5 separate regions of the Homo sapiens genome follow, and regions 2, 3, 4 and 5 are each linked to region 1. The links are contacts of gene promoters, found by promoter capture Hi-C in blood cells and fetal thymus (Javierre and others, 2016). All regions are on one chromosome and are shown on one strand. The core of a region is centred on a gene start or on the middle of the fragment in contact, and the rest is flanking DNA. Distances in the headings are between cores, read along the strand shown.

What was found. The method cuts DNA at HindIII sites, captures the fragments that hold promoters and counts their contacts. A CHiCAGO score of 5 or more calls a contact.
Region 2: a contact is called between the fragment with the promoter of TRAPPC6B here and the fragment with the promoter of SPTSSA in region 1, in 2 of 17 cell types (monocytes and naive B cells). The highest score is 12.0, in monocytes.
Region 3: a contact is called between the fragment with the promoter of SCFD1 here and the fragment with the promoter of SPTSSA in region 1, in 1 of 17 cell types (M1 macrophages). The highest score is 7.4, in M1 macrophages.
Region 4: the fragment with the promoter of HEATR5A here is called in contact with the fragment with the promoter of SPTSSA in region 1 in 1 of 17 cell types (M1 macrophages); the score reaches 5.3 in M1 macrophages.
Region 5: a contact is called between a fragment that was not itself captured here and the fragment with the promoter of SPTSSA in region 1, in 2 of 17 cell types (total B cells and naive B cells). The highest score is 6.1, in total B cells.

What each region holds. Positions count from the first base shown.
Region 1 is chr14:34,460,251-34,463,864 of GRCh38, reverse strand. It overlaps SPTSSA (serine palmitoyltransferase small subunit A), which reads left to right and starts at 1,625. Exons shown (of 2, transcript NM_138288.4): 1 at 1,625-1,769. The coding sequence starts at 1,658. RefSeq lists silencers at 1,103-1,612, 1,733-1,902 and enhancers at 812-1,762, 2,303-2,412. The HindIII fragment of the contact is 5,560 bases long and covers 1-3,614 here.
Region 2 is chr14:39,168,846-39,172,267 of GRCh38, reverse strand. TRAPPC6B (trafficking protein particle complex subunit 6B) reads left to right here and starts at 1,935. Exons shown (of 6, transcript NM_001079537.2): 1 at 1,935-2,253. The coding sequence starts at 2,173. RefSeq lists enhancers at 708-1,297, 2,079-2,128, 1,888-2,477. The HindIII fragment of the contact is 6,900 bases long and covers 1-2,154 here.
Region 3 is chr14:30,620,545-30,624,333 of GRCh38, reverse strand. SCFD1 (sec1 family domain containing 1) reads right to left here and starts at 2,015. Exons shown (of 25, transcript NM_016106.4): 1 at 1,935-2,015. The coding sequence starts at 1,995. RefSeq lists enhancers at 1,733-2,412, 1,482-2,681. The HindIII fragment of the contact is 1,359 bases long and covers 1,909-3,267 here.
Region 4 is chr14:31,418,152-31,422,109 of GRCh38, reverse strand. It overlaps HEATR5A (HEAT repeat containing 5A), which reads left to right and starts at 1,560. Exons shown (of 36, transcript NM_015473.4): 1 at 1,560-1,638. It overlaps HEATR5A-DT (HEATR5A divergent transcript), which reads right to left and starts at 1,352. Exons shown (of 4, transcript NR_110045.1): 1 at 1,133-1,352; 2 at 142-266. RefSeq lists enhancers at 1,240-1,389, 1,820-1,869 and a silencer at 1,980-2,099. The HindIII fragment of the contact is 6,619 bases long and covers 1-2,247 here.
Region 5 is chr14:31,194,531-31,197,969 of GRCh38, reverse strand. All of the region lies in intron 2 of HECTD1 (HECT domain E3 ubiquitin protein ligase 1), which reads left to right. Among named protein-coding and RNA genes, the nearest start is that of HECTD1, 12 kb to the left of the region's middle. The HindIII fragment of the contact is 3,027 bases long and covers 439-3,439 here.

The DNA.
Region 1 (3,614 bases), core at 376-2,875:
TCTTGGTATCCTAAAGGATACGATCCACAAAAATATCATTTACCACACCTCACTGTAATCCATTAACTTGCCTCTCTTCCCCAGCAGACTGGGTACTTTATGAAGGCAGGTCTCAGTCTATCTGGCTTGCTATCCCAATGTCTGGCACTTGATATTACTTACTGTTTTCTTTCTTTTCTTCTCTTCTCTTCTGTTTTCTCCTCTCTTTCTCTGTCTCCTTTCTTTCCTTTCTTTTGCTCTGCCACCTAAGATGGAGTGCAGTGGCACCATCCTGGCTCACTGCAACCTCGACCTCCCGTGCTCGAGCAATCCTCCCGCCTCAACCTCCTGAGTAGCTGGGACTACAGGTGCACGCCACCACCCCTGGCTAACTTTTTGTTATGTATTTACTTATTTTTTTTGGTAGAGACGGGGTTTCACCATGTTGCTCAGGCTGGTCTCGACCTTCTGGACTCAAGTGATCCGCCAGCCTCAGCCTCCCAAAGTGCTTGGATTACAGGCATGAGCTACGGCGCTTGGCCGGCACTTGGTACTTTTAATGAATAGTTATTAACCATGAAACTTTTAAAGTTTAAGCAGTAGTATGTTTAACCTGGAAGACTTTTAACATTTAAACAGCAGGCCATTTAATTGTGGCAGTTCACATGCTACACCAGTGCATGGAGCTCCTTGTGGCCAGTGCAATGTTGCTGGCCCATCTGGCAGTGGGAAAATCTGGGCATCCAGGAGTGCATCTCTAGGGAAGTATCACCAGCCCTCACACCAATCTCAAGCTGCCTGTCTTCTGCAGAACCCACTAGATCAGCGCGCTTCTGGCCTTGACCCACTTGGTGGTTACCTACAGCCACTAAGAGGTGGGCAGATAGATGTTTTTGGTAAGTGGTCTCTGGGTTAGGGAGTGCATGGGTTATGTCCGTCTAGGGGTGTGTGTGTGTGTGTGTGTGTGTGTGTGTGTGTGTGTGTGTGTGTGCATGGGTGGGGGAAGGGAGGAAGGAGGCCGAATGTGCATCCCTTCTACAAGGACGCCTTTCCAGACCTCCTTATTAGGTGGCGTTCGCCTCCTCACCCTCTCTCAGCCCCTTATCTCCTCTTACACGGATCACGACTTGATTAATGCTTGTCTCCCAGCTAGGCCGCCAGCTGCACAAGGTAAGGAACCGAAGGCATTCCGGTTCTCCCTGGCAATCCTCCTTCTCAGAAGGATGCCTGAGGCATAACAAGTGTTCCAGAAATATTTCTTCCGCAAGCGCTCTGGGCCAGTCTGGACGGACCGAGCGCCCGCTGGGCTGCGGGGGCCCCGGGACCCCGGCCGGCACTGACGCCCCGCCCACCACCGGCCGGCCCGGGCGGGGTGGGGCGCGGCTGGGCGCTCTCGCGGGGACCGTTCTCCGGCTAGCGTGGGCGATGCCCGGGCGGGGAAACGGGAGGGGACGACGCGACGCGAGGTAGCGGCCTGGCCAATGAGCGCGGGTCGGGCGGGGCTGGGGGCCGGCGGCCGGGGCGCGCGCGGGTCTGGGCGTGCCGCGGGTGACGGCGGGGCCGGGCGGGCCAATGGGCGCTGGGTGGCGGGCGGGCGGGCCTGGCGGCCGGGGGCTTTAGGACGTGAGCGGGCGGCCGGCCGGACAGACTGACGTGTGAGCTGCATCGCGGGAGGCGCATGGCGGGGATGGCGCTGGCGCGGGCCTGGAAGCAGATGTCCTGGTTCTACTACCAGTACCTGCTGGTCACGGCGCTCTACATGCTGGAGCCCTGGGAGCGGACGGTGTTCAGTATCCTGTCCCGGCCGCGCGCGCGGGGGCCGGGCTGGGGGCGCGGGCCGCGGGGCCGCATTTCCCCAGGCCCCGGGCCTGGGGTGGAGGCTGGAGCGGCGGCCCCGCCGGTCCTGTGCGCGGAAGCCGGGGGTGCAGGGGGAGGTCTGGGGGCCGAGGGCGGCGCTCGCGGGGTTAAGTGGGGGGTGGGGGAGACGAGAACTCTTGAGATCCGGGGTCACCTGTGAGTCGCTGGACCCAAGGGGGAAGCGTCTTGATTCCTGGAGGAAATCTCCGAAGGTGATGTGTAACCCTGTGTGTCGCCTGCACTTCGGCCGCAACTGCCTTTGGTTCAGTCCCCTGTTCCTGTAGGAGGCGGGGATCATGTAACAGTGGAGCACATCGCTCCCGGCTTGGACGCCTTTGACCTTTAAGTGTTCCTGATTTAGTTGGCTTTGGGTCTACCAAGAATTCTAGTCAGTTAACTAGCTTTTAAGCCAGGTTCTGAATTTGTAGGCATGACACTCCAGTAGTTTTTGAAAGCAGTTTAAGTTATTGTATCTTTTTGGTCTTCAAGTTGGGGAGTTTTAAAAGTGTATTTATTGCTTCTGTGCACCGTCCGTAGAAGTCGGCCCGAAAAGTGGTGCAATTTGTGGTTAGTTGTCGGTAGGGTTTGAAACTGTGTTTTGGTGGATAGTTAATAAATTCTTGTTAATGACTATTGAGTGGTTACTATAAGCAAAGCATTTGTGCAAAGCACGTTGTCTGTATCTTAACTCATCTAACTTTGAGAACTTCAGTTAATAACTCAGGGTTGTGAAGATAGGCTCCCTGAAAGTCTGATGTTTCTTGTCTCTGCTTGTCCATATTGACATCCTTTGATGATATTCTTGCAGATTAAATACTGATAATGAATGAGATGTAACTTTTAAAAAACTCAGGCCAATACAAAACAGGTATTTCACAAAACATGTTTAGTTTATCCACGTTCTCTCCTTTTCAGTGTGGTTTAGTTGGAGTAGCTTACTTCAGAATAACTTTGCGAATGCATTGTTGCATTCCAGTGAGTGACTGAGGTAATTTCATTCTAAGCCTTATCAAGTGTGTTTATTTGTTTTGAGATAGCTTAAGGTTGTACTCAAAGCTGAGTCTTTTGTTTAAGCACTTTTGAGGAATTTGAGATGCTTTCAAAGCAGTTTATTTATTTATTACTGTTGGCATTTCTTTCCAAACCTGGAATTTAAGAACCAGAATGCATATTTTGGATTTAGACTCTGAATATAGTTTGCTTTGATTTCCTGCACCATTTATTTGTAGCTGCAGTTTAGTCTCACTCTTTAGGGCTCGCAAGGTCATGCCTTGTAAAATATATACTTGAATGCATATTTAATAGAAGTCTCTCAGTAGAAGCAAGTATATCTTGACTGACATAACACATCCTAAAATTAATTTAAACAATGCTGGGTTAAAATGAAACTCTTTAAATCAGAGGTTGAATGTAGAGTGCACTATTAGAATCTAGTATAGATTTGACACCTAAAATCTAATATAGATTTTACACACTAAAATGCTACAGTTATCAATGATGTTAAGATTTTTCTGTTATGTTGCAATAGTGATAGTGTCCTATAAATAACTAGGTGATGCCTTTTTTGGGGGATGGAGAAATAAATTATGAAATGAAATATAGTGCCTTAGTAGATATTTGCCTTTAATGTTTTTGAGTTACCATGGTTTAGCGACAAGTAGTTTCAATTTTTTTTTCAAATAGGTGAGAACTGCAACCAACTGACATCCAATATTATAGAACCTTATGATTTTAAACTTAAGATAAAAAAATCTTATTTCAAATTTCACGTTATTGAA
Region 2 (3,422 bases), core at 686-3,185, 4.7 Mb before region 1:
CTTCCATAGGATCTATTCCTAGGAGCCTTGGCAATTTAACTTTATGGAGAAGGATAAGTAGGATGCTGTGTTCAATAGTTAGTAGGTCCTCATTAAATAAGTTTCCTTTCTATCCAGAAACGTACTTTAAAAGCCTCATGTTATTGTGGTTGGAGAAGTCAACTTTGATAAATTGGCCATTTACTTACTTTTTGACTTGTGTGGTGGACTTGGACTCCTTTTTCTTGATGGTAGTGATGAGGGCAAGAATGTCATCTAGACATAAAGGACCTGATTTCGCATAACTGAAAATTTAGTGCTGGAAAAATTAAGATTACCATGGCAAAATACTCTTCAAAATTACACAATTTAGTGTTTTCAAAGGCTTAAGTGGAGCTTTTATGCTGGATTTACGTGATGAATGGAATAAACTGATTCAAACATTAGAAGGGACATGCTTAAAAAAAAAACCTACCACAATTAAAATTTTGGAACATGATCTTAAATTCCTGTGAAAGGGCATGAAGAGTTTGTGTGTGTGTTTCGTTTTTTGAGACGAAGTCTTGCTCTGTCGCCCAGGCTGGAGTGCAGTGGCACAATTTCTGCTCGCTGCAACCTCTGCCTCCCAGGTTCAAGTGATTCTCCTGCCTCAGCCCCCCGAGTAGCTGGGATTACAGGCACCTGTCACCACGCCCGGCTAATTTTTGTATTTTTAGTGGAGACGGGTTTTCACCATGTTGGCCAGGCTGCTCTCAAAACTCATGACCTCGTGATCCCCCCCACCCCCCGTGCCTCGGCCTCCCAAAGTGCTGGATTTTACAGGCATGAGCCACCTTGCGGTATGTTAATTTGGGGGAAAACAACAGGGACAATTGGGGAAAAATTTTGTTTTGTGAATTACCAATGGAAGAACTAATCACAGGCTAAGCAACATGCTTACGGTTGAATTTGCCAAATTTAAGATGTACATACTATGATGTAGCATGTGTATTTATTTGCACATGCAGTGGGACAATTCCTACAGTTGTCTCACACTGCTGTAGATTATTAGCAACTCCATCCTGCAGTGACATCGCTTTTCTGAATTCTATAGCACTTTTCACCTAATCCTCTGATTAGTCTGTATTTTCCGGTTCAAGTGTATCTTGTTTTTCGTTTGCTCCACTTCCCTTGTCCCTTGCACCCCACTAACAGGAAAATTCCTGGTGGTCAAAATGGCTCTAATTCTTTTTGTATACCCGGGCTTAATTCAATAGGAATTGGGATAACTTTTCAATATTTAAAAAATTTGCACTGTGAAAACGTATATTTTAAACTCTTTCTACAACTTTTCATATTTGAAGAACATATGGCAGGAAGTGGATGCTTTTGATGAAGCCAAAAGAATTTTTTTAACTTCTATTGCTAATTAACAAGGAGGTGGCCGCGGGAGCTCTTTTTTTTTTTTTTTTTTTGAGACGGAGTTTCACTCTTGTTGCCCAGGCTGGAGTGCAGTGGCGCGATCTCAGCTCACCGCAACCTCCGCCTCCCGAGTTCAAGCGATTCTCCTGCCTCAGACTCCCGAGTAGCTGGGATTACAGGCATGCACCACCAGGCCCCGCTAATTTTGTACTTATAGTAGAGACGGGGTTTCTCAGGCTGGTTCGAACTTCCGACCTCATGTGATCCACCCGCCTCCGCCACCCAAAGTGCTGGGATTACAGGCGTGAGCCACCGCGCCCGGGCCAGGCGGGAGCTTTAGGTCTTATTTTATCTTGCTCTGCCCCCGACATCGTGGTGAGAGGGGAACCTTCCTCATATCTGGGCGCTGGCCTCTCCGGGCTTGGGAGAGAGGAACTCAGTGATCATAGAGCTGGCCGAATGCCGGGGTAGAGGGGACCGGAAGTTGTTTTTTTCGCCCCCGCCCAGCGGCCGGATCGCATCTCAGCTGGTTGGCTTTGGTTAGAGCTCCCGTCAGACTTTAGTTCGGCCCTAGGATTTGGTAGCCCCGAAGTGTGGGCTCTCTCCAGTACCAGACTCATTTCAGTACCAGCCTTTGGGAAGTCGTGTGAATACCTCGGTCTCTTAGCCACAGGGATAGAATGGCGGCCTGACGGAGCCGCGGCGCCGGCGAAGTCGCTGAGGCGCGAGCTGGAACCCCCAGACCAGCTCAAACGGGAGCCAAAACTCGAAGCTTGGAAGAATTAGCAGGAAATGGCGGATGAGGCGTTGTTTTTGCTTCTCCATAACGAGATGGTGTCTGGAGTGTACAAGTCCGCGGAGCAGGGGGAGGTGGTGAGTGCTGCCACACAACCTTGAGGTCCTTTTGCGGTGACACACCTTGTTTCCCCTCAGTGCTTTCCTTCAACCCCTGTCCCATCGCCACCCGACGCCTCCCGAGGTGTACACAAAATGGTCCACCTCCAGGTGTCCTAAACCCTAGAACCTGTCAGTTGTCTCCTTTGAACCGTCATCTTTCATCGTTTTCTCTTTCGTATCTTCTTCTATTTGATTCTCTTTTGTCTATTCCCGTACGTTTGTCTTGCACGCCACAGATTTTGGTACTTTTAGTGTTGTCCCTGCCATTATTTACGAGAGGGTTAACTGCAGAGCCTACTTAGTTTTGCTGGCACTTCCAGCACTTGAGCCATGCACTGGACAGACCTGTGCCAACCTGAGAAGCCTGTCCCTCCTTCCTCATTCCTAATGCTCAGTACAACTCCACACAACTTGAGACCTGAAGCCTAATGAAGGTTGAGTTTGCAAAGGAAAGTTTGCAGGCGTTAGGATAATTAGGGAACATAATTTAAATTAATTATTTCAGAAAGTATTTATTTAGTGCCCTTATGTCAGAGCGATTTCTAGGTGCCAGGGATATAGTAGTGAATGAAACAATGGCCCCATCCTTGTAGAGATTTTTTTTTAATCTAATTTAATCCGAAATGTGATAGTATGTAGCGGTTACTTCTAATATGTGGGAGTCCTTATTCAATCATTGTGGGCCTGTCACTGCTGACACTGCTAGATAAATTAAATAAAATAATACTCCTGCCTCACAGTATTTAGGGAATAGTGATTTAATGAATAGTTAACACTGAGTATTGGCTGGTAGAATCATGGAGTTGTAACGGATTTTAGAAATACTCCAAAGTCATGCTCAAGTCAGGAGCCCTTTCTTTAATGCTATTGATAAAAAATGAGTGGAGAGTGGGGATAGGAAATGTATCCTAGGCAAAGATAAAGTGGTAGAGGTATGAAAGAGTGGTGGATTTAAATACACTTAAGCATTTCTTTGGACTAGACTGAATAGAGAGTGAGAAGAATTGAGAGGTGAAGTTAGAAAGCTTTGTGTAATTAAAGAATTCGGATCTTTTCGAGGGAATATTTTTAAGGAAGGGAATGATGTGGACCATTTGCATTTTAGAAAAGTAATCCAGTGTTTGGGCTAGAGAGGGAAGATCCTT
Region 3 (3,789 bases), core at 766-3,265, 3.8 Mb after region 1:
TAGATGAGAACACTAATGGGACCCTGCAATGTTGAGAAGCTGGGAAGATGTGCAAGAACCTGTAACGAAGACGCATTCAATGAAGAACAACAGTAACACGGAGCAGGAGGCAACTGATTCTACCTATTGAACTGAAGGTATGGATAGAGGGGACAGTGAACCAGGAAGAAAGGAGATGGCTTGTGGGATGACCTTCAAAAGATCAATAAAGATTTTTCAGGAGACCAATAAAGATTTTTCAGGCAGGCAAAGCAAGAAACAGGCACGTTAGTTTACCTCTATCTTACTTTCCTCACCTGTAAAATGGAGATAATACATAATCACCTAATGCAATGCCTAACAATAGTAAATGCTCAATAAATGCCAACTATTATCTCATCCACCCAAATATTCTAGTATCTAGAATATTTAAGGACTGTGAGTTATCTCCCAAAACATTCTCCATAGGCATGAGGGAAATAGCTAATTCTGCATTATAATATATATACAAGGATTTACCTTCCTCTGAAAATAAGGCAGAATTCAATGACAGTAAAAATTTGATAAAAAATAGATCTAGCACTACCTAGTAATTCTGTAAAATCTTACTATGTTTATTTCTGCAGAAATACAAACGATTAGATTTTAATGATCTACAAAATTTCTGCATACAAGTTTACGGCCACGCAAATTTATTTTTCAAAAAGCTCTCTTGTATTGGTACAGTTTTACTGACACGTTATTTTAATATGTAGTATAGTCATCAGAAACACAGTATTAAAACAAATGGAGCTTCCATTTGTTTAAACATATACAACGAATGGCAGGTATGCCCCAAATCTTATTTGAACTTCCCTATATTTAGTTATGCCTGACTTCACCTGATAGGTTATACTAAATTATTTACTGGGAAAAGCAGAACGCAACTCAGTATCTTTTGTGTGTCATTACTAAATTGAAGTCTATCACTTTTTCTTTAAATGCCAAAGGAAGGAATCAAGTACAGCCCAAATCCCTTCTGTAGGTCATATGAATTATAAATTTATTTTCCTATTCATATTTATATCCAACAGAGCATAATTTCAGGAAACAGAATTCCAAGTATGCACATTCTTGATGCCTTATTTCTATTAGCTCCTCAGAATAAATTGCTTGAAAACTTTTAAGACAACTAGTTAACAAGTATAAACCTTTAGTTTGTAGCTAACAGGTATAAACCAAGTTGTCATGAGAAGTTTTCAAGTAAGGCAAAACTAATTTCTAAGACGGAAAAAAACCCAAAACTCAAGAGAAGAATATGTGCCTTTTTACATTTCTCTGCATAAATAGAAGCTATATAAACATGCTCTATTGAAGATAAAATATTATTTTAAAACAATGTGTCAAACAATTAAAATGAGAAAGCTATTAATTCATTTGTTTTGCCATTCTTCAATGCCTTCCAGCAAGCTGAAGGAGAAAATGTTTATCACCAGGCATTTTTCTGCAGGTACCCCCAAAAGACTGGTCCGAAGTAGAGAAGTGGCGCAAAGCAAGCCGCTGTGAAAATACCTAAATTCTCTGAGTGTCAGAAAATGGGAGTTCTCTTAAAAATCAAAACCAGGAGAACTGAACCACGCACAGAAACTCGGAGACCTCATAGGTGGCAACATAGATAAGAAGCTATCAGCTGCTAGATCTTGTTGTGATGGCCTTCTGATGCCCACTAGGAAGGAGACAAGAGCAGGGCCGTAGCAATCCGCCCACCGCTGAAGCTCCTTCTCCTGCACCACAGGAGGAACCGAGTCCTCAAGCTAATGGCAACTTCTCCCCAAAAACTCAAAGGGGAGGGGCTCTTGATGTTCTAGGGACTGGATTAAACTCCTGGAGATCGGTCTCTGAGCTGCACGCACCAGAGGAGAAGGATGTCGTCGGGGCAGTCACGAAGCTTCAAGGAGAAGAGAATAAGTCAGTACCTGTCTGCCTTTCCCGAATACTGGCTGCTGCTGCTGCTGTCGCTGCCGCCGCCGCCGCCATCTTGGCTCCCACGAGCCACTGCCCGGCTGGGGAGCGGAGCGGGGGGATGACGTGGCTGCCCTTACCGCCCCGGAAGCAAAGCCCGGAAGGGCGGGGCCAAAGGGTGTGCCTGAGTTCCGGACCCCACCTCCTCCAGGAAGACCTCCACTCTCGGTAGAACTGGGAGACCCGGTGCAGGTTAATTCAGTGGCCCGTAATGTTAGGCGAATACTAAGAGTTTTTATCCTACCGAATCAAGCCACACTCTCTCAAATGGTAGCAACATTAAATTGAGCTGTTAGGGTAGGAGCGTGTAGTGCTAAGAACCTAATTACTGAACTGTTGGTTTGGTGACTTACAGAGCACTTAAAGGGTGATAATGCTCTAGGAGTATAAGGACCACAGGACTGAAGTAAATGAAGCTCCTGAAACACAGGCAACATTTTAACGTTAGCTCTCGTTTCTCAGTGCAGCAGGAGTCTTCCCTTTGCTCCTTTCTCCAGAGAAACGGAAAGCATTGGAGCATTACTCTGATCTGGCATATTTCTCAGTCGCATCTCTTTAAAAAAAAAGGTGTAGCTTTATGGTGGCGTTCTGCCGGCATGGACACGGGATCCAGGGAGGTACAAAATGAGAAATTAGCATTTCTCCTCTTTCCTTGTAGTAATTGCAAAATCACCTTGCCGTGGGAAGGAAGTCAAGCAGTAGTGGGGTGTGTTGCCTAGGCTGGAGCGCGCAATCAGGGATCACTGCAGCCTCAAATTCTGACGGTCAAACGATCCTCCTGCTTCAGTCTCCCAAGTAGCTAGGGACTACAGGGGCACACCATCAGGCCAGGCTGATGTGCTGGTTTTTGTTGTTGTTTTGTTTTTGAGATAGTATCTCACTGTCTGTCGCTCAGGCTGGAGTGCAGTGGCAGAATCTCGGCTCACTGTAGTCTCGACCTCCCGGACTCAAGCGATCCTCCCAAACTATCCTTCCACCTCAGACTGCCCACTAGTTGGGACTATAGGCAGGGGTCACCACGCCCGGCTAAATTTTTTTTTTTTTTTTTTGTAGAGACGGGGATTCACCATGTTGGCCAGGCTGGTCTTGTGCTGGCGGTTTAATGTACACTTGAAGCCACGTGACCGCAAAATATATGGGATAGATGATTTCTAACTTAATCCATAGATTTTACTGTATGACCAAAATGGATACACAATGACACCTCATTTCCCGAGTTCATTGATGACGCTTCATTATGAAGTTGCACCAAATTCTGAAATGAAATCACTCTGTACCTCAAAAGCTTAACTTTCACAATTATATAAATGAAATGGTTAGCCTAACGATTATATATTGTTTTATAGTGTGAAACACTGGCTTTTTTCATTAATAAAAATTTATTTTTGTGACATTTAAAACAGGTTATCTTATTACATAATCTCTGCCGGGTGCGGTGGCTCACGCCTGTAATCCCAGCACTTTGGGAGGTAGAGGTGGGCAGATCACCTGACGTCAGTAGTTCGAGACCAGCCTGGCCAACATGGTGAAACCCGGTCTCTACTAAAAATACAAAATTAGCCGGGTGTGGTGGTGGGCGCCTTTAATCCCAGCTACTGGGGAGGCTGAGGCAGGAAGAACTGCTTGAACCTGGGAGGCGGAGGATGCAGTGAGCAGAGATCGCGCCACTGCACTCCAGCCTGGGTGACTGAGTGAGATTCTGTCTCAAAAAAGAAAAAAAAATTATGTAATCTCATTTTTATAGCTAATTGGCACATTCATTAAGAAATTAACTGGAATACATGTGTGTCTTCAGTACTATTACTAATA
Region 4 (3,958 bases), core at 311-2,810, 3.0 Mb after region 1:
ACACACACATATCACAGAAGATAGAATGAATGGGGCCCCTACCCACCAAACTTGGGATAATTGAGCATCAAAATAAATAATGATAGAGACAGAATATTGGCTGGTGTGGTGGTGTGCATGCCTGCAGTCTCAGCTACTTACCTGGGAGGCTGAGGCAGAAGGATCACATGAGCCCAGAAGTTCAAGGCTGTAGTGTGCACCATGATTGCATTATCGACCTGTGAATAGCCACTGCACTCCGGCCTGGGCAACAAAGGAGGCCCTGTCTCAAGAAAAAAAAAAAAAAAAAGAGAGAGAGAAAAGAGAGAAAGAAACGGATTATAAGTCATTTAACAAAATAGAAACCTCTGGATCCATACTAATTAATATAAATACATTAACTGAAGATTTGATGAGAAACAAGATATTTACAAATATCTTGAAAGGAGAGTTTCAGAGTCTCCCTCACAAAATACTTATTAATTTACAAAGGGGGGAAAAAAGTAACCACACTGGACAAGCCTAACAGACATCACCTTATTAAAGTAAACATCTGTAATGAGAGAAGTTAAAATCGTGCCACCTGATAGGGTGCCATGAGAAGAAAGCAGCAACACTTCTAGAGTCCTGTCATACCTAGCTAAATGTAATCATGAGTAAATATCAGACAGACCCAAAATGAAGGCCATTCTACAAAAATAACTGGCCAGGAATCTTTAACAGCGTCAAGAATATGAAAGGCAAGGCAAGACTGAGAGTTCCAGTTTGAAGAGTAGGAAAGATACATGATAAGTAAATACAATGCCTGATTCTGAACGGAATCTTTTACCATAAACAATATTATTGGGACAATTGGTAAAACGCCGAGTTATGTAAATGTTTTGATTTTGATGGTTATATTGTGATTATGTAGAAGGTGCTTAGGGACAATGTGGCATGGTGTCAGCAATTTAAATCTCAATTCAGGGAAAAAAAGTTCTTTGTACTATACTTGCAACCTTTTTGTAAGCTGGAGATAGATTCAAAATGAAACTTGAAAAATGACATTTAAAACGCTGAGTGTAGTGGGAAAACGCACATGACTCAAGGTAAGAGGCTATTAGTCTCAGTTCTGCCATTGACTTAGTATGTGACCTTGAGCAAGTCACTTTACCTCAGTCCTCACAGTCAAGGCTCTCTAGGGTCCCTTCCACGTCTAACATCTACCCCCACAGCACTGGCCCCGCCTGAATTTCTCCAGGCCCTTTAGGTGTCCCAGAGCTGCACCCAAAGACTCTGGCTTACGATAAAAACAGACAAAAATAGTTGTGGCCGGAATCTCCGGACTGAAAAACCGCTGTCCTAATCCTAACTTGGGCCGCAGTCTCCATCGCTCTTTCGACGGTGAAGCAGTCACGCCTGCCAGAGTGGGCGCTCGATGGCTCGGCGGCCAGCTGGCGGGGCCTTGGACCAGCGGCCCGGCGCAGGGCGCGCTCCCAATCGCTAGCTCCCGCGGTGCTCGCCGCTGAGAGCTTTCCGGCCACGCCCCACGCGCGCCCCGCCCACCTCAATGCCTCGCTGTCGCCGCCGCCGGCAATTCCAGACTCTGCTAGGGTTAGCAGAGCAGCCGGTAACGTTGCTGGACCGGGACGCACGCTCAGCTGAGGAGGACCCCCAAAGGCAGGCAGTCGGGGATCCAGGGAGCGGGGACACCTCCGGGCGCGAGGGGGCTGTGTCTGGGCTGCCTGTTGGCTGGGAAGGAGAACGCACCAGGGCCGCTGTATGAGTTGAGCGCTCGGGGATCCCGAGGGTGGTCGCGGCAGCAATGTGATCGCGAAAGAAGCCGGTGGGAGAACCGGTCGAGGGGCTAGGTGTCTTGACCCTAAGGGCTGGAGTCCGCCGAGAAGGGGCTGACTGGGGCACAGGGTCGGCTGATAAACAGCGTGGTCCGTTCTTCCTCCTGGACTACGGGAAAGTCTGGCTTCACCTGTGCACAACAGGTAGGCGTGGACTCTGCCCGCCAGCGGGAGCCGGGGTTGCCGGGCGTGTGGGGAAGGTCAGCAAGTCGGAGCCCGCCTCGCCAACTCGCCGCTCCCGGGACCCGCCCTGCGGCGTCCGCTGCGCCAGTGGTCAGCCAGGAGCCGGGCCCCGGCCCGGCCTTCGGGCGAGCTTCCTCAGAGGCCCGTTCGTTTTCTGCAGGAACCCTCAAAGAGAGTTCCCAGAAGGGAGCAGTGGAGAGTGTGGATATTTGCTTTCTAACTGTTGCAGTTCTCTCCAGGAAAGAAAGCTTTTCCTTTGGTGGCATTTGCTTAGTGTGAGGAAACATTTTCTTTCACCCTACTCTCGGCCAACGCGGCGTTATTTCAAGTGATTATAAAGTCTTTAGAAACTTTATAAAGCGTTTTATAGTGTTTATTTATCACAGTAATGGATACCTCTGGCAAGTTGGGATAATTTTCTTGACTGTCAAGTCAGATAATAATAAAATGGCTTGAGCTCCTACATTAAAGGTCATAGTTATCCATTGTTTTTATGTGCATTCATTTATTGAACAAATATGCAGCACTTTTTTGGGGCTAGGCGCCCTTAAGGAATTTACAGCCTGAAAGATATTAGAAGTTTAAGGAGGAAAAAAAGGGGCCCACAAGTACACTTAAGAACTTCCAGAGAAAATACTCCCAGTGAAATTACTTAAGCTGTAGGGAAAGCAGAAGTGTGGTTAGAATTGAGCATTAGTTGGATGGGGAGAGGAGAATTTTGTTTAATTTTCCAAACATTTTAGAAAGTATGTCTTTGAGAAAGTAATTTTAGATAAAGTATCGAAGCCGAGATTTGTGTTACATTTTAATGCCATTGACTTTTTTTTTTTCTTCACTGATAAGCAGGCAGGATTTATAATATAAGAATAGTGACAGTTGGAGAATACTGTAGTATGGATTTGTTGTGCCTTGGAATGCAGTTGTTTTACCTAGATGACTATAGAATAGGAGAATAAGAAAAGACTCCTCACCTGAAAGTCAGGAGACCTGAATTCTAGCTTAAGTTCCCTCCACTATTTATGGATGTTAGATTAGGTCACTTTTTTAGTATTATTCATTATTGTATCTGACTTTAGTCACAGAAAATACATGACTCCAAAGTACCTTTTTAATTCTTAAATTATTAATTAAAATTAACTACATTAAACTAATGAATATATTATCTACAGAAAAAAATTATTTTTTTACTTGTCTTTAACCAATACACTTACCTTTCTTCTTGCTTTGTTTCAAAAAGGTTGAGGTAGTTTATAATAGTCTTTCTTAACTATGAATAACATAAGGGTTAAATTCTGAATTTTTTAAATTCTAAAATTATTCTGAATTAAGCGTTTAATGACATCTGCATTTTTTTAAAAAGCTCTATTGAGTCTTGTGTGGTTCATTAATTATCCCATAGTATAATTGAAGAGTTTGAACAATCCTTTAATGAGACCACAGTCCTCATATAAATAACACTTCTGCTTTTTCAGGAGACATTGAGAAACTGTTATTAAATCTCATTTGAGAAATCAATTAACTGGGGCCAAAAAACTTAGTAAAGACTTGCCTGTGTCACTTAATTAGATCCCTTGTCTAGTTCTAGTGTTAAATTTTTGAATTAAAATAGTGCTCAGCAATCTACAGCCTGTGGGTCAAATCTGCTCTGCTGGCAGTTTTATAAAAGTTTTATTGAACACAACAATGCTCCTTCGTTATGGCTGTGCATGTTTTGTTTTTGAGTAGTTGTGATAGAGACCGTATGGCTCCCAAAGCCTAGAGTATTGTCTGGTCCTTTACAGAAAAAAATTAGTGGACCCCTGAACTAGAGCTCTTAAGTGCTTAATCACTAAATCTTTTGTAGGAGGAAATAGATTAAATTCAGTTTTAATTCTTCTGTTTGTTTGTTTGTTTTTGTTTTTATCGAGACAGGGTCTGGCTCTGTAGCCCAGGCTGGAGTGCAGTGGCGCGATCTTGGCTCA
Region 5 (3,439 bases), core at 703-3,202, 3.3 Mb after region 1:
CACAGGAAAGAAAGTGATTCAAGAAGAGAAAGGGCAATTGTTTTGAATACTAGTGAGAGGTCAAGTAGGGGTTAGATGAAAAGATGTCCTTTAGATTTAGCAACATTCTCAAGGTCATTGATCTTAATGAGAGCTGAGTGGAGTGGTGGTGAGGGGCAGATCTGAATGGGTTGAGGAGTGAGTGGAACATGAAATGGAGGACATGTGGAAACTTTTTTGAAGAATTGAATTGGAAAAGGAGTGTGGGGTTTTTTCTTTTAAAGGTCAAAGAGATAAGAAAGAGAGTGAATAATCCCTAGGGTAAGGATTCTGAAAAACTGGGAGAGAATTGGCTTTTGTATAGAAGCAGTGCTTCTTAAATTTTAATGTGCATAATGAGAGTCACCTGGGGATCATGTTAAAATGCATATTCTGATTCAGTTGGTCTTATATGAAGCTTGATATTCTGCATTTCTAATATGGTCCTAGATTATGCAGAAACTGTTGGTCAGAAAATCCCACCTTGAGTAGCAAAACCCTGATCCACTGGTGGAGAGATTGGTTTTAGGCAGAAAGAAGTTGTGTACTGCCGTTGTAACAGAGAAGATAGAGACGTTAGATGCACATGTTTTGGGTTTGATGGTAAAAAGTTAAGGGCTGGGACTGGGCGTGGTGGCTCATGCCTATCTGCAGTCCCAGCACTTTGGGAGGCCGAGGTGGGTGGATCAGTTGAGGTCAGGAGTTCGAGACCAGCCACGGTGCCTGGCCCTGAGTTATAGTCTTAAAAATTGATTTGCCTGTGCTACTCCCTTTTACAGAATCTGTTGGGTTCTTCACCTACAGGATCAAATTTAAATGTCTTCAAAGACCCCTCCTGCATATTCTCACATGTATACACTACTTCCACTTTACTATACTTTCAGTTCTCCACTGGACTACGAGCTCGTCTTTGTTTTCCCATTGCTAAGCATAGTGCCTGGCACACAAATAGCTAATATCCAGATACTGAAGGAGTGAATTGAAGAGATTGCTTATATTGGACCTGTTTTCCACCTAATGCCTAAAATGCCCATGGAAGGTATTTGTGGAGTTGAGAAACTTGTTGTTAGTATGCAGGAGGAAGAGTATTGTATTCTTTTTTGTTTTTTTTTTTAGCAGATACAGTATCAATAAGTACTTTCCTTACTTTCTACCATTAATATACCTGCCTTTTCTTTCTTTTTTTTTTTTTTGTTTTGAGACGGAGTCTTGCTCTGTCGTGTAGGCTGGAGTGCAGTGGCGCAATCTCGGCTCACTGTAACCTCTGCCTCCCGGGTTCAAGCAATGCTTCTGCCTTAGCCTTCTGAGTAGCTGGGACTACAGGCGCACACCACCATGCCCAGCCAATTTTTGTATTTTTTAGTAGAGACAGGGTTTCACCATATAGGCCAGGCTGGTCTCGAACTCCTGACCTCGTGATCCTCCCGCCTCGGCCTCCCAAAGTGCTGGGATTACAGGTGTGAGCCACTGCGCCCGACCTGTACCTGCCTTTTCTATATTGACCTGTTTTCTTCTACCCAATGGCAGAGTAATAGGGAAATGAATTACTTTTGTTGATCAGCCCTGACCCTTTACTGGAGAAGGAATGTTCATTGATATATCAAATATGTATAATCCTCAAGAGTTAAATAAATGAGCTGAACACGGTGGCTCATGCTTGTAATCCCGATACTTTGGGAGGCTGAGTCAGGTGGATGACTTAAATTCCGGAGTACAAGTCCAACCTGGCCAACATGGCGAAGAAACCCCCTCCCTACTAAAAATAGAAAAATTAGCAGGGTGTGGTGGCACATTCCTGTAATCCCAGCTTCTCAGGAGGCTGAGGCACGAGAATCGCTTGAACTCGGGAGGTGTAGGTTGCAGTGAGCCCAGATTGCACTACCACACTCCAGCCTGGGAGACAGAGTGAGACTCCGTCTCAAAAAAAAAAAAAAAGTTAAATGAATTCCTGTAAACAGACAGCAACTGTGTATGTGCTTCTTTTCAGTGGACAGCAGAGAGAAGTGCTGGAATGAGAAACACTGTCTGTGAGGGTTTACCTGGGACTCCAGGGGGTCCATAGGTGATTAAATTCAGGGAGCTTTTGTGACGATTACCAGAGTTTCTGTCAGCTAAAAAAATGTAGAGGCCAGGCTCCACTGGTGGCTCATGCCTGTAATCCCAGCACTATGGGAGGCCAGGGCGGGTGGATCACCTGATGTCGCGAGTTTGAGACCAGTCTGGCCAATATGGTGAAACCCCATCTCTACTAAAAATACAAAAATTAGCAGAGGTCTGGTGGCATGCGCCTGTAATCTCAGCTACTTGGGAGTCTGAGGCAGGAGAATTGCTTGACCCTGGGAGGCGGAGGTTGCAGTGAGCCGAAATTGCACCACTGTGCTGCAGCCTGGGCTACAGAGTGAGACCTTGTCTCAAAAAAAAAAAAAGTTAAAAACCACTCTTAATAGTTTCAACAGGAAAAATACAAGGAAAATTTATCAGAGATAGATTTTTATCATTTTTATTTATGGGTATGACATTGTGTTTTATAACGCTTTGTAAGTGTACTTTGCATAGTTCTTGACTGTATCATTAGATTGAATTCTTCAGAGTCAGTGAACTCTTTCTTACTCATCTTTGTGTCCCACCCCCAACACTTAGCATAGCACTTGGTGTAGAAAGGCATTCAATAGATGTGTTGAATGAATTGCAGTCAAATTTGTATGTGTATTTTAATTGGAGAAAAGCAAACTTACATCTTATAATTGGACTTTACCCCCTTTTTCTTTGCAAGGGAAAACCACAATTTTCAGCTGCTGTACCAGGAGTTATTTTTAGCTCAGCAATACCAAGAAAGTCAAGGCTGGGAGCAGAGGCAAAAATGGAATATGAAATGGATCAAAAGATGTTGCGTTATTTATTGTCTTTAAGAAACCAGATGTGTTCAGGTTTTTCAGTTAAAATATTTCATTTTTTTAAAATGAAGTGCCTGATTTACAGACTATTTTATAAAATATCTCTACTACAGATAATGCCCTTTATTTTTTTTAAAAACAGTTATATTCTTTCATGTCTTTGCCAATCTTCTGAAATCTTGGCCCAAGTTCAAGTGAAAAAAGCATATGGTAGTTATAATACAGAAAATATTACAGTTCCCAGGGAAATTCTTTCTCTTTGGAACCTCATGTAACCTTTTTTTATTGCTTCCATCAGGGAAAGATTCTGATGTCTTTACAGGTAGCATTTTGGAAACCAGTGCCTAATTTGGAGTCATCTGAAGATTCTTCATAATCTCACTTGTGTGGTTGACTACTCTGACAGGAGTTCTGTATAGACTGATTGATCCTAAAGTTTCCTAAATAGGCTTCCTAATCTATTGGTATTATATTAATAATATAGTACTCACGTTAAGATAATAAAAAAGAAGAATTTCTACCTGTAA